Regions from separate parts of the Homo sapiens genome. Here region 2 is linked to region 1. Evidence: promoter capture Hi-C in human tissues and cell types (Jung and others, 2019). All regions are on one chromosome and are shown on one strand. Each heading gives the region's core, a stretch centred on a gene start or on the middle of the fragment in contact. The rest is flanking DNA. Distances are from core to core; before and after follow the strand shown.

Region 1 (6,371 bases), core at 1,705-4,204:
AACACGGGATCATGGTTCACCATGAGATTTGGAGGGGACACATATCCACCATATCACCTACCAAATAGAAAGTGGACAAACAGGGAAATAAATAAAACCAAACCTAGTTTTTTTAAAGACAAATGAAATTGGCAAATTTCTAACTTTACTGGTCATTATAAAACAAGAGAACAAATAAATTACCAATATCGGATGTTATGGTTTGGCTGTGTCCCCACCCAAATCTCATCTTGAATTCTCACATGTTGTGGGAGGCACCTGGTGGGAGGTAATTGAATCATGGGAGTGGGTCTTTCCTGTGCTGTTCTCATGATAGTAAGTAAGTCTCACAAGATCTGATGGTTTTATACAGGGGAGTTTCCCTGCACAAGCTCTCTTCTCTTGTCTGCCACCAAGTGAATTGTGCCTTTCACCTTCCACCATGATTGTGAGGCCTCCTCAGCCATGTGGAACTGTGAGTCCATTAAACCTCTTTCTTTTGTAAATTGCCCAGTCTTGGGTATGTCTTTATTAGCACCATGAAAATGAACTAATACATCAGGAATGAATAAAAGGTTGCCACTACAGAATCTGTAGATATTTAAAGGAAACCAAACAAATAATGCAAACAACTCTATGTCAATACATTCAACAGCTTAGATGAAATAGGCAAATGACTGGAAATGCATCATTTATGAAAAGGGATACAAGAAGAAATAGAAAATCGGAATAGCCCTCTATCAATTGAAGAGACTGGACTCATAATTAAAACCCTTCCCACAGAGACAATGCCAATCCCGAATGGCTTTGCCATTGAATTCTACCAAGCATTTAGGGGAGAAATAATGCCAATCTAACCCAAACTTTTCCAGAAAACCGTGGGGTAGACACAGTGTCGGCGAGGGTGCTAGGGATTAGGGGACGGAGGCTGAGGCCTCACGGGTGGCAGGGATGCCCTTGGTGGGCTCTGGCCATGGACACAGACTCCTGGGATGAGAGGGGGACTCATGGAGGAACACCCACGCCTTGACCCTGAGATGGCCTTGCAGGGAGGGTAACTGAAAATTTACCCACTGGGGACAGTTGCCTACTTACTAAAACAGTTCCAGCCACCACCGCAGCCCCTGGAAGGCCATCCCCCCAGAAAATCCCCCAGGTCTCAGCAGGGCCTTGTCCACCTGTGCCCTCCAGTGTCGCCCATGTCAACCTCACCTAAGAGGGGCCTGACGCACGGTCCTGCAGGTGCGGACTCTGGGTCCTGAAAGCCCATGCGGAACCTGGTGCCCCCAGAGGAGGGCCTGGGGCAGTGCCAGTTTTGGGGAATCATGTGCATCCATCCACCCACTCCATGATGCTTTCGTCCTGATCGAGTCCCTTGTCTCCTGCGCAGGTGCAGCAGCCCCTCCCTCTCCCCCCGCATTGCTGCTAAGCGGGCAGAACTCTCGGGCGGGCGGCACACAGGGAGGGTGACCAGGCCTGGAGGCTGCGGTGCCCGGACCCCAGGCCAGCTTCCTGGAAGGTGACCCTGCAGGGTGGGCTCTCCCAGGTGGGACAGTGGGTGGGACAGTCCTGGGGCCTGGAGAGCCCCACAGCCCAGGGCACGGCAGCCAATGACCAGGCTCAGGAAGACCCAGGCATGGAGGCTGAGCCGGGACTGAGCCTTCCTGGGCGTGGCTGTGAGTTCCACCTGGTGACCCCCTGGAGGAGTTAGGCCACTGTCCCCCGTGACTTCTAGGTTAAGTCACTCATTCATAGAAACAGTCATGGCTAGAGACCAATCTGAGCTCAAAACCATGTATCCCCAGGAGCACTACAGAAAAAGAGAATCAGGCGACCAAGGGGAGTTTATTGGGGAGCAGGAGGAGGTGCTGACAGGTTCAAGTCGAGGCCAAGTGACATGGGGCAGAGAAGCTGGGAGGGAGGACAGGGGACCCAACAGGCAGGTGGGCCCCTGCTGGGAGGCAGGAGCTGGGGAGCTTCGAGGATGGAGATTCCTGGGAGTATGGAGGGGGGGGTCACCTCAGCACATGGGGGCCCCGTCCCAAGCGGGGGCAACCTCCTAACCCGAGTCAGGACCAGTTGGCCCTGGGGGATGTGCACATCAGCAACTGGACTCCTGGCCTGAGCAGAGGCCTCAGCAGGCCAGGGGGGAGCACGCGGGGCGGCAGAGGAGGGACACGCAGGAGGCCGGGCGGCAGCAGCTGGCCTGGTAGGAGGAGGCAGGGGCACAGCAGGAGGAGATGGGCAGGCAGCAGGCGGGCCTGCATATGGGGCGGCAGAGGAGGGACACGGAGGAGGAGGGTCTGCAGCAGGAGGTGGTGCAGCAAGCCGGCTGACAGCTAGACTGCTGGCAGCATGAAGTGGAAGCCCCAGAGCAGACGGGCACACAGCAGATGGGTTTGCAGCAGACAGGCTTGCAACAGACAGGCACGTAGCAGGACTGCTGGCAGGGGGAGGAGGTGCAGCAAGTCGGCTGGCAGCTAGAATGCTGGCAGCATGAAGAGGAATCCTCAGAACAGGTGGGCACACAGCACACGGGCTTGCAGCAGACAGGCACACAGCAGGACTGCTGGCAGGAGGAAGAGGCACAGCAAGTTGGCTGGCAGCTAGACTGCTGGCAGCATGAAGAGGAATCCTTAGAGCAGGTGGGCAGGCAGCACACAGGCTTGCAGCAGACGGGCACGCAGCAGGCCTGCTGGCAGGGGGAGGAGGCGCAGCAAGCCGGCTGGCAGCACGAGGGCGTGCAGGAGCTGGTGCAGCCTGATTGGCAGGGGCTGGGCTCACAGGCCGCCTGGCAGCAGGGGCTGGACACACAGCTCACTGGGGTGCAGACCAGGGTCAGGCAGGGGGCGGTGCCGCAGGGGGGCTCACAGCAGCTCTCTGGGCAGTCGTCCACTCGCCAGGAGTCAGAGCAAGCGCTGGAGCAGACGGACATGGTGCACGCGGCCATGCTGGGGTGGGGAAGACGTGAGCTGGGAGCTGGGGGAGGTGTGAGTGAGTGAGTGTGTGAGTGAGTGAAGGAGGGAGTGAGTGAGTGAGGTGCTCAGGGCTGTGGGGCTTTTAAATCCCTCCCTGGCGTGTGTTGTCCCGACAGGAGGCTCCACAAGCTTCTCTTCCTTGTTGGTGTTTAGAGCTGGTGGCTGGAGATGCGTCATTCATGCTGGTTTATCTGTTTGTTTTTCCCTCATTAAACTTGTGTGTATGTTGCAGGGCCGTGTTTCTTCATCGGTTCTTATTTTAGCCCCAGAAATGTGGTGGAAAATATTTCAAGCAAACTTTTGTTGAGTAGAGGTTTTAGAGATGAAGACTTCTCTAAAGGGAGGAATTCTAGTTTCACCTATCCTGTGTTTGGACTGATTGGATATATTTTATTACTTTTAGCATATTAAAATATAAATAGGTAGAAAAATATGCATTTCTTATAAAATGCAGCTGGCACAGAGGGTACGATGAAGCTAAGTGGCCCTCTCTTCAACCCCTTGTGCCTCGTAAGGGGAATGCTCAGAGATTTGGTATCTGGTGGATCTGTGCTTTATCCTTGTCTCTTCAGCTCTTCCATGCCACCCTCAGAGCCCTCTCTCTGTTTTATTTGAAGCTGCGCTCTGGGTTTTCTCCATTTTTATTTCCTCATGGTGACAGATCAAGTACTTTTTCACATATGGTGATTTTAGGACATACATTTTAAGATTTCTTTCTTGCCTAAAAATGTACTCAACTTTACCCTCACACTTATATGATAGTTTAGCTGGGTATATAATTCTGGTTTTAAGTCAGAATTATTATTATAAATAATAACAAAAAATCTGTTTTCTCAAAATGATGAACCTGTGTCACCATTTTTCTGTAGTGTCCAGCGTTGCTGATGAGAGACTGAGGTTGGTCATTTGTCATTTTTTATAGTTTGTCTCTCTCTCTCCGTTTAACTCTCTGGGAACATTTGGTTTTCTTTTTATTCTTCTTTTGTTTCTATGCGTGTGCATTATTTTACTTTCTGTGGTTAGAATTCATTGAGCCTTTCAATGTGGAGACTCAGGAAGTGTTTTGCGCTCTTAAAAATAACTCATCTCTCAAGGTCTTTCCTTTTGTGACTTTAATTTTGTCTCACGATGAATGAAATACATTTTTGGCTCACTGTAATGATGTTATGTTGAGCATTTAAACGTTTTTCCCCTCGTTTCACTGGACATCAGTTAAGCTCTGCTCATTGGTGGCAGTTCATTTGATTTTCTGAGTAAAAGACTATTTTATTCCAGGGCATTGGGGTCCTGATCCAGTTTACATTCTAATTTGTTTCCATCTGTTTCTCTTTTCTACAAATATATAAAGGATTTTAAAGAGCCTCCCTTTTTGTTAGACAATTTTGATTTTATTTTTTATAACTCTTTGAATATCCTTTCAGTGATTATTAGTAGAGGTTGTGCGAGAACTGTGTGCTTAACCCACTTTCTGGGACTGAAGGACTCGATGCTCCTTTCAGGAAATGACAGGAAAGCCAGGAAGGCTAGGATGACGTCATATCAGCGGGTGTGCTACAGACATGCACGGCGCAGGTGCGGTCTCCACATCAGCCACCGCGTGAGGGGTGACTCTGCAGCCCATTTTGACAGTTGCAGAAATGATGAGAGAAGATAAGTAACCTTGAAAGAGGACAGCTGGCCGGCAGTGAACCTGACAACCGCGAGCTCTCACTCCTTTCCCTCACGGCCATACATGGCTCCGTTCTGTCACACAGCTCCCAGAAGAGTGCGTGCTTCCTGAGTGGCAGGCAGGGAGGCAGGTGGTCCTGAGCCAGCGGGATGTGGTAAGGCTGACATGGCTTCTGGGACAAGCCCTGGGGCCTGTATGATAATTTGCTTTAGTTTTCCCATCGCTATCTCTGGCAGCCTCCTTAATCGAATGGGTGTGGTGATTCCTTGTCTCTTTATTCCTATTTGTGATCCACGCCCTCTGTCGCTCCCTTCTCCTGGTGTCTGGACCACCCATCACTGTCCAAAGTGTCTTTCCACAGTCATTGCTGTGCCCACAACAGCTCCAGGGTCTCAGTGTGCCTGATCTAAGTCCACGCCCTGCGCTCAGTGGAGACGTGTCTTTTTGGATCATGGAAATTTTCACTGGGGGCCACCATGGCAGTTTCCACGGACAATTGAATGATCACACCAATTTCTTTCTTTCTCTCTTTCTTTCTCTTTCTTTCTTTTCTTCCTTCTTTCTTTCTTTTCTTTTTTGACACACAGTCTCACTCTGTCACCCAGGCTGGAGTGCAGTGGTGCTGCAGGCCCCACCTCCCGGGTTCAAGCGATTCTCCTCCCTCAGCCTCCCGAGTAGCTGGGATTACAGGTGTGCACCACCACATCCAGCTATTTTTCTTTCTTTCTTTTTTTTTTTGTATTTTTAGTAGAGATGGGGTTTGGACATTTTGGCCAGGCTGGTCTCGAACTTATGGCCTCAAGTGATCCATCCGTTTCAGTCTCCCAAAAGTGCAGGCATTACAGATGTGAGCCACTGCACCCGGCCAGATCACATCATTTCTTAAATCAAGCAGACACTCTGGGGATCTGAGTGAGCTGAGCTGCAGGGATTAAACAGCCCTGGCTGGGGGAGGGAGGTGCTGGGAGGGGATGTGAGTCTGGAGGGCAGGGTGGCCCACGGCCGTGTCTTCTGCAAGTGACACACGTTTGGATTCTTCTTTTCCAAAATGTAGTCTTTTGTTTTATTTGACTCCCTTTCATCGTGGCTGGCTGCCCAGCACAACTCTGGAGACGCGATGACAGCAGCCCTCTGGTCTTGTTTCCAAAGTTAACAGAAGCACCTCCTGCAGCTCCGCACTAAGCCGGTGTTGGCTGGTTTGTCGCAAAGCCTTGGTCTCGTGCATGCAGTGTTTTTTCACTCTAGTTTACCAAGAATTTTGCCTCAGGCTTTTAAAGAAGGAGTGAGTTTGTTCATGTATGTGTGTGTGTGAATGTGTGTGTATTAATCTACTGAGTGTTCCAGTGGCTTTTCTACTTCTATTTTATGAGTATAGTTAATGATACCCTTTGTAACTTGAGTGATCTAAGATATACATTACTTGATAATGGCTCATTATCCCTTTTTCCCCAGCTTTATTGAGATGTAATTGACAAATAAGAATTATATAAATTCAGGATGTCTTGATACATGTACACATTGTGTGATGATTACCACGGTCAAGCTAATTAATATGTCCATCACCCATGCAGTTACCTTTATTTTGTGATGAGACATTTAAGGTGGACTCTCTTAGCAAATTTCAGTGTTACTGCGTCACATTCTGTGTTACAGTCAACTGTCCCCGTGCTGCACATGAGGTTTCCAGAACTGACTCATCCTGCACAGCTGAAGCTGTATCCTGTCATCAACATCAAAGTGGATAA
Region 2 (7,006 bases), core at 3,428-5,927, 41 kb after region 1:
ATGGCCACGTCCACCATGTTCATCTCCTCTAGCAGTTGCACTGACTCCTGGCAGGTGGCAGAGGCCCCAGCTGTGCTGGGAGGTGGGACATGGGGGGACACTTGGGCTCCAGCTGTCCCAGCGCTCAGGGAGTTCTACTCAGGGACAGCTTGGGCATCCTGGCCTCCTGTGCACGCTCACAGATGCTCAGGGGCGCCCTCTGCTCCAGCCCCAGGCTTGCCGCTGGGATGCAGAACAGAGAACAGACACACGGCCTCTGGAATTCCCTGTGCTGGGCTGGGTGGGCGGAGGGCCCCAATGGCAGAGGAAGTCCAGGACAGCGTGGGGACACATGCAGACCAGAGGGTGAGAGAAACACATGGACACACAGGTCCAGTTGTAGCCAGATGTGGTTTCAAACAGGATTGAGCAACAGATTCCTAGAAATACAACTGCAGGCAAGGGATGCTGGCAAGGTGTGGCCGTGACCAGGTTGCCTGCAAGAGGCCCTGAGTCTTTACTTCTTAAGAGCTATACAATCACAATGCTGGGGGCACACGTTATTCTTTCTTTGCCAATTTAATAAAGAAAAATATCTTATGGTTTTCTTCAGCAAGCTGCGCAGTGTTCCAAAGCGTGAACACGCTGCACTTGATGTCTGCAACACCAGGTGGATGGCACTGAATGTCTCTCTAGTTGTTCTTTATTACAAACGACACTTCTGTGTGTGTTTCCACTATATACCTTTCCACACTCAGATATGTGTTTGCCTAAATTCCTAAAAGTGGCACTTCTAAGCTGGAGTGTTAGCAGATTTCAAATTCATAAAGATATTTAGAAATACCCTCAAAAAGAGTGTCCAAACTGTGCCTGCTAAGACCGATGACAGAGGAAATGGTGGAGCGGGGAACTGTAAGGGCCTGTCCCTCCACAGAACATCAGAAACTGGCAAAACAAACAGATATGGTTGGACTTTTTGTCCCCATCCAAATCTCATCTTGAACTGTCATCCCCAGGTGTTGAGGGAGAGACCTGGTGGGAAGTGATTGGATCATGGAGTTGGTTTCCCCCATGCTGTTGTAGTGATAGTGAGTTCTCACCAGATCTGACAGTTTTATAAAGCAGTTTTCCCTGCTCTCACTTGCTTCTCTCTCCTGCCACCATGTGAAGAAGGTCCTTGCTTCCCCATTGCCTTCCACCATGACTGTAAGTTTCCTGAGGCCTCCCCAGCCATGTGAAACTGAGTCAATCAAAGTTCTTTCCTTTATTAATTACTCAGTCTTGGATAGTATCTTTATAGCAGTGTGAAAAAGGACTAATACACAAACAAACAAACACTACCTGGTAAAATCAACTTTATCCAAACTCTGGAAAATGGTCAAAGCTTTGCAGCAAGCAAGGGAACACATAATCAAGTAAAAGCAACAGAGCCCAATAGGAGAACCTTGTGGATTTTAACTTCCCCTTGCCCCATCCCCCATCCCCAGCTGGGTGACAGTCAGGAAGGCAGCAGCCGGAGTTCCTGGTGTGGGGTGCTGCTGCCAGGGAAGCAGAGTGGACCTTGTTTGTAAGGCAGTGCAGTTGCCTGTTTCGACCGTCTGGTGGCTCCCTGAAGGACTAACACACAGGGCTTGCCTTATTTCACCAACTCAGACTATCTCAAGGTAGAGGAGCAGCTATATGGAGGGTGTGTGTTACAACGTTTAAAGGTAAATGAACAAGTCACTGACACCTAAGTCAAAAATTTTCAGTTGGGAAAACACTGGACACCCCTAAAAAGCCTGGGAGGAAAAGCTAGGAGATGACATGCTTTGAGGAATAAGGGAGTTAGAAGGTTCCACATATTTTTAGAGTCCAGAAAGCCCCCGTGCATGTCTATGATGGGGCACTGGCTCAGAAAAGAGCTGAGAAGCTCTCATTGCTCACCTCTGGCTGAACCTCAGGCTCTGAGCAAGCAGGAAGTGAAGGTGCAAGCAGGAAGTGAAGGTGCAAGCAGGAAGTGAAGGGGAAGGCAGAGTCACAAACTCCCCAGCCGAGTGCTGAAGGCGTGGACCAACATACAGAGCCCAGCTACAAACCCTGAAGAAAAATAAGTTTTTGATTCCAGGGGTTTAAGGAACTCTCTGTCAAATTACTATCTCAGCACTAAGCTAATAGAACAGTGAGCACACATGGTGAAGAAACTATTTTTAAAAACTGACAGAAACAAACAAAAACAACCACAATCCACAACAATCAGCAACAGCAAACTGCGCAGAGGGAGGAGAGCCTGATACCCAGAAATATCCCTTTGTAATTGTCACTGTGCAGTTTTCACCAGAGGCATGTGCCATGCAAAGCAGCAAGAAATATAAGCTACTCATGAGGAGGAAAAGCAATTAATGGAAAATCTTCCTGAGGAAGCCCAGAATTGGACTTATTAGACAAAGCCTTTCAATCAACTCTCTTAAACATGTTTAAAAAACTAAATACAATCACAGACAATGAATTAAGATAAACCAGGAGAATGATACCTCACCAAATAGAGAATATCAATAAAGAGATAGGAGGAAATTTAAAAAGAAATTAAATAGAAGTTCTGGAATTGGAAAGTACAGTCACTGAAATAAATAACTCATGATATGGTTTCAACAGCAGATTTTAGCAGCTATAAGAATTAGTGAACAAGAAGATAGATCCATTGAAGTATTCTTGTCTGAGGAGTAGATGAGAAAATGAGGAGCAGATGAGAGAATGAAGAAAAATAAACAAATCTGAAAAGACCTGTGGGACACCATCAAGCATACCAACACACTTAGCAGGATTTCCAGTTGGAGGGGAGACAGTGGGAGCAGAAAAAATAGTTGAAGAAATAATGGCCCAAACTTCCAGAATTGAGGAAACACATCAATCTAACTCAGAGGGATTCACATAAAAACACAGTATAATCAAACTCTCAAAAGTCAAAACAAAGAGAGAATGTAAAAAGCAGTGGGACGGAAGACTAACAGCGGATTTCTCATCAGAAACCATGGAGGCCAGAACGCGTTGGGATGACATATTTAACATGCTGGGTTTGGGCACAGGGGTGGGGAGCACCCAACAACCAAAAAGACGTCTTCATCTGGCAAAGTGATCCTTCAAAAGTGAAGAAGTAACACATTTTGAGGTAAATAAAACCTGAGAGCTCGTTGCTGAAAGATGTCCCTTACAAGAAATGCTATTTCAGGCTGAAATACAAAGGCAGTCGATAGTAAGCTAAAGCAATATGAATGAAGAAAGGTCAACAGCAAAGGTAGCCATGTTGGTAGTTTGTATGTTTATAGGAGTTTTTCCATTACATCTTGGTTATCTAATTTGTTGGGTACAAATATTCATAGTATTCCTTTATAATTATTTTTATTAACGTAAGGTCAGTAGTGATGTTCCCATTTTCATTTACGATTTTAGTTATTTGAATCTGTCTTCCTTTAATCAGTCTAGACAGAGGTTTGTCAAATCTGTTGCTCTTCTCAAAGAACCAACTTTTTTGTTCCTTGATTCGATTGATTTTTAAAATTTCTATTCCATTTATCTGCACTCTAGTCTTTATTTTCTACCTTCTGCTAAATTTGGATTCACTTTGCTCTTTTTCTAGTTCCTTAAGGTGTAAAGTTAAATTAATGATTTGAGATGTTTCTATTTTTTTATGTAAGCATTCCTAGCTATCAATTTCCCTCTATGTACTGCCTTCATTGCATCTCGTTAAGTTTTGGGTTACTGTGATTTCTTTCTCATTCCTTTCCAAGAGTTTTCTATCTTCTCTTTGAATTCTCCTTTGACCAATTGGTTGTTTGAAAGTGTGCTATTAGGTTACACATATTTGTGAATTCCAGCTTTTCTTTTGTTACTGATTTCTAGTTTCCTTCCATTGTAATCAGAGAAGATACTCTGTATGATTCAAATCAATTTAGATTATTGAGGCTAGTTTTGTGGCCTAAGGTAAAATCTAATCTGAAGAATGTCCCATGTGAACTTGAGGAGAGTGAGTTTTCTGCTGTAGTTGGGTTGTGTGTTTTTGCACATATCTGTTAGACCCAGTAGATTTATGTCATTTTTCAAGTCCTCTATTTCCTTATTGAATAAAAATTTAGTTCTGTTATTTTATACTTTTTTAAATTAGAGAGAATGGCTTATTGAAGTCTCAAACTCTTACTGTAGAACTGGAACTGTCTATTTCTTTCTTCAAATCTGTCCATTTTTGTTTCATATACATTGGTGATCTGATGATAAACATGTATATATTTATAATTGATATATCTTATTGATGGATGGACATTAATCACTACATAATGTCCTGTGGGCCCAGCCCCCGCCGATCAGTCTGCTCCAGCTTCTGTATGACAGTGGCTTCCTCATCAGGCTCCTTTCCTGGCCTATGGCTGGCCCCTCCCCAGTAGGGCCATCATGTCCCCAGGTAACATCCACGTGGCCCCCTGGGCAGCACATATCATTCCTCAGTTGCTCTCACTAGAAGCCAATACTTCAGGCCCCACTTCCTAAGGTCTGGAAAATTATGGCAGCCTAATAAAACAAGCTGATAAATTTAAGACTGGTATTATTTCTCTCCCAGTTGTTTGAGAATATTCAGCAGGGAAAGTATTTGGGTCTGTAGTTGGCTCTGTAGGAAAGCTTTTGATGTTAGATTCAAGTTATTTAATCAATATGGGATATTTGTATTTTTGTTCCTTTTGTGTGGATTCGGTGTCTTGACAAATATAGACAGTTGTGTCTCCACCAACGCAATCAATACATAGACTCCTCTCATCATCCCATACATTTCCCTCATGGCCATTTGTAGTCATTCCACATCCCCATCCTAGTCCCTGGCAGCCACTGACATTTTTTTTGGTCCCTTTACAATTACCTTTTCCAAAATGTTATATGCATGGAACCCCATGGTGCTTAGTATTTTGCCATATAACATAAGACTTAAATAGACCCTTCCCTAAAGAGCAGGTACAGATGGCAAATAAATACATGAAAACATGCTCCACATCATGAGTCATCAGGGCAATACAAACTTAAACCCCAAAGGACTCTCTCTGTATAGCTGTGTTGACTAAAGTAACAACACATCTGCTGTGCAGGACTGGCAAGAATGTGGGGCTTTGCTGATACGTTTGAGCTTAAACCTCCCATCTCATTTTGGTTTTTGCTTACGCAAGGAATCTACTCCCTTTTATCTCCTTGCTTTACTGCTTTTGGATCTAGTGTTTTGAGATTTTTTATGCCCCCATCTTCCCCTCACTGTATTAGTTCCTTGGGCTGCCACATCAAATGTCACCAAAAAAGTGACTTATAAGAGTGGAAATTTATTATCTCGCAGTTCTTAGGGCCAGGCACCTGAAATGAAGATATCCACAGGGCCATGCTTTCTCTTAGCTCCAAGGGAGACTCTGTCCTTGCTGCTTCTAGTTTCTGGTGCTCCCAGCAAACCTTGGCGTCCCTTGGCTTATAGCTGCCTCATGACAATCTTTGCCTTGGCTGTCATACGCCGTCTTCCCTTTGTGTGTGTGTTTGAACTTCCTTCTCCTTTCTCTGATAAAGACATTAGTCATTGGATTTAAGGTTCACTATAACCCGGTATGACCTCATTTTAACTAATTTCATCTACAAAGACCCTATTTCTATGTAAGGTCACATTGTGAGTGACATGGTTTGGTTGTATGGCCCTGCCAAATCTCATGTTGAAATGTGATCTCCACTGTTGGAGGTGGGGCCTTGGGGGAGCTATTTGACTCATGGGAGCGGATCTCTCATGACTTAGTAGTGCTGTCCTTGTGATAGTGAGGGAGTTCTGGCAAGATCTGGTTAAGCGTGTAGCACCTCCCATCCCCCACTCTCTTTCTCTTGCTACTCTTTTGCCATGTGACATGCCCACTCCCCCTTCACCTTCCACCATGAGCAAAGCCCCCTGAGGCCTCCCCAGAAGCTGAGCAGATGCCAGCGCCATGTTTCCTGTACAACCTGCAGAACCATGAGCCAACTAAACTTTCGTCTTATAAATTACCCAGTCTCAAATATTTCTTTATAGCAATGCGAGACCAGCTTAACACAGTGAGGTTCTGGGTGGATATGACTTTTGGGGAGGCAAGATTCAACCCACTACACTCATCTACTTCCTCCTGAGTTGTATATTCTTTCATTACTCTAGTGGAGATTACAACATGAATCTATGACTTTTTAAAGTCTAATGTAAATTAGATCTTATATTATTTCCCAGATAGTATAGTGTACTAAGACTGCTTTAACTTCATGTAGCCCCCTCCTGAATTTTGTGATCTTCTTGCCATGTATTTCATTTCTATAAATATTTTACAACTTCTAAGACATCTTATACAGTAAATATTCATTTAGATTTCCCCATGTTGTCCTCCTTTTGTTACACTTCATTTCCTTTTCGACTTCTTGCTTCCATCTGTGATCATTTTCATTCTGCCTAATTATCTTTTTATTTTCTGTAGTGCAGATCCTACTGGTGACACAACCTCTCAGCATCCAGAGAACATCATTTTCCTGTCCTCATTTTTGAGGATCTTCTTCCCAGGTGTAGAATTCTAGCTTGGTGCTTCTTTTCTTTCAGACAGTAAATATATCATTCCATCATCCTCTGGCTGCCATCATTTCTACTGAGAAGTCATCTGTAAATGCTATTGTTGCTTCTTTAAAGGTAATATTTCTTTTTTTTTCCCTTGGCTGTTTTTAAATTTTTCTCTGTCTTTGGATTTCAGCCCCAATATGCACAGGCATGGTTTCCTTTGTATTCACCTTGCTAAACATTCTTAAATGCTTTTTGCATCTATGGGTTAATGTTTTTCATCACTTTAAACTTCTTGTCTATTAAACCTTCAAATATTTTACTACCCTTATTTTACTCATCTCCTCCTATGATTTCAACCATTTATATTCATAATTATTTACAACATAAGGGCATGCTTACTACTCCACTTTCTTCATTTCCCTCTTTTCTTTCCCATCTCTGTACTCAGGGCTGAATTTCCTCATC

What was found. Contacts are between HindIII fragments. The study calls those that stand out against the background at their distance.
Region 2: a fragment that was not itself captured here is called in contact with the fragment with the promoter of KRTAP10-5 in region 1 in 3 of the 25 tissues and cell types used here (IMR-90 fibroblasts, lymphoblastoid cells and mesenchymal stem cells).

What each region holds. Positions count from the first base shown.
Region 1 is chr21:44,577,650-44,584,020 of GRCh38, forward strand. It overlaps KRTAP10-5 (keratin associated protein 10-5), which reads right to left and starts at 2,955. Exons shown (of 1, transcript NM_198694.3): 1 at 1,806-2,955. The coding sequence starts at 2,929. The coding sequence ends at 2,114. The region is part of intron 1 of TSPEAR (thrombospondin type laminin G domain and EAR repeats); the gene reads right to left. RefSeq lists enhancers at 2,099-2,689, 2,690-3,279. The HindIII fragment of the contact is 3,934 bases long and covers 1,436-5,369 here.
Region 2 is chr21:44,617,136-44,624,141 of GRCh38, forward strand. The region is part of intron 1 of TSPEAR (thrombospondin type laminin G domain and EAR repeats); the gene reads right to left. Among named protein-coding and RNA genes, the nearest start is that of KRTAP10-9, 6.5 kb to the right of the region's middle. RefSeq lists an enhancer at 1-609. The HindIII fragment of the contact is 3,363 bases long and covers 2,997-6,359 here.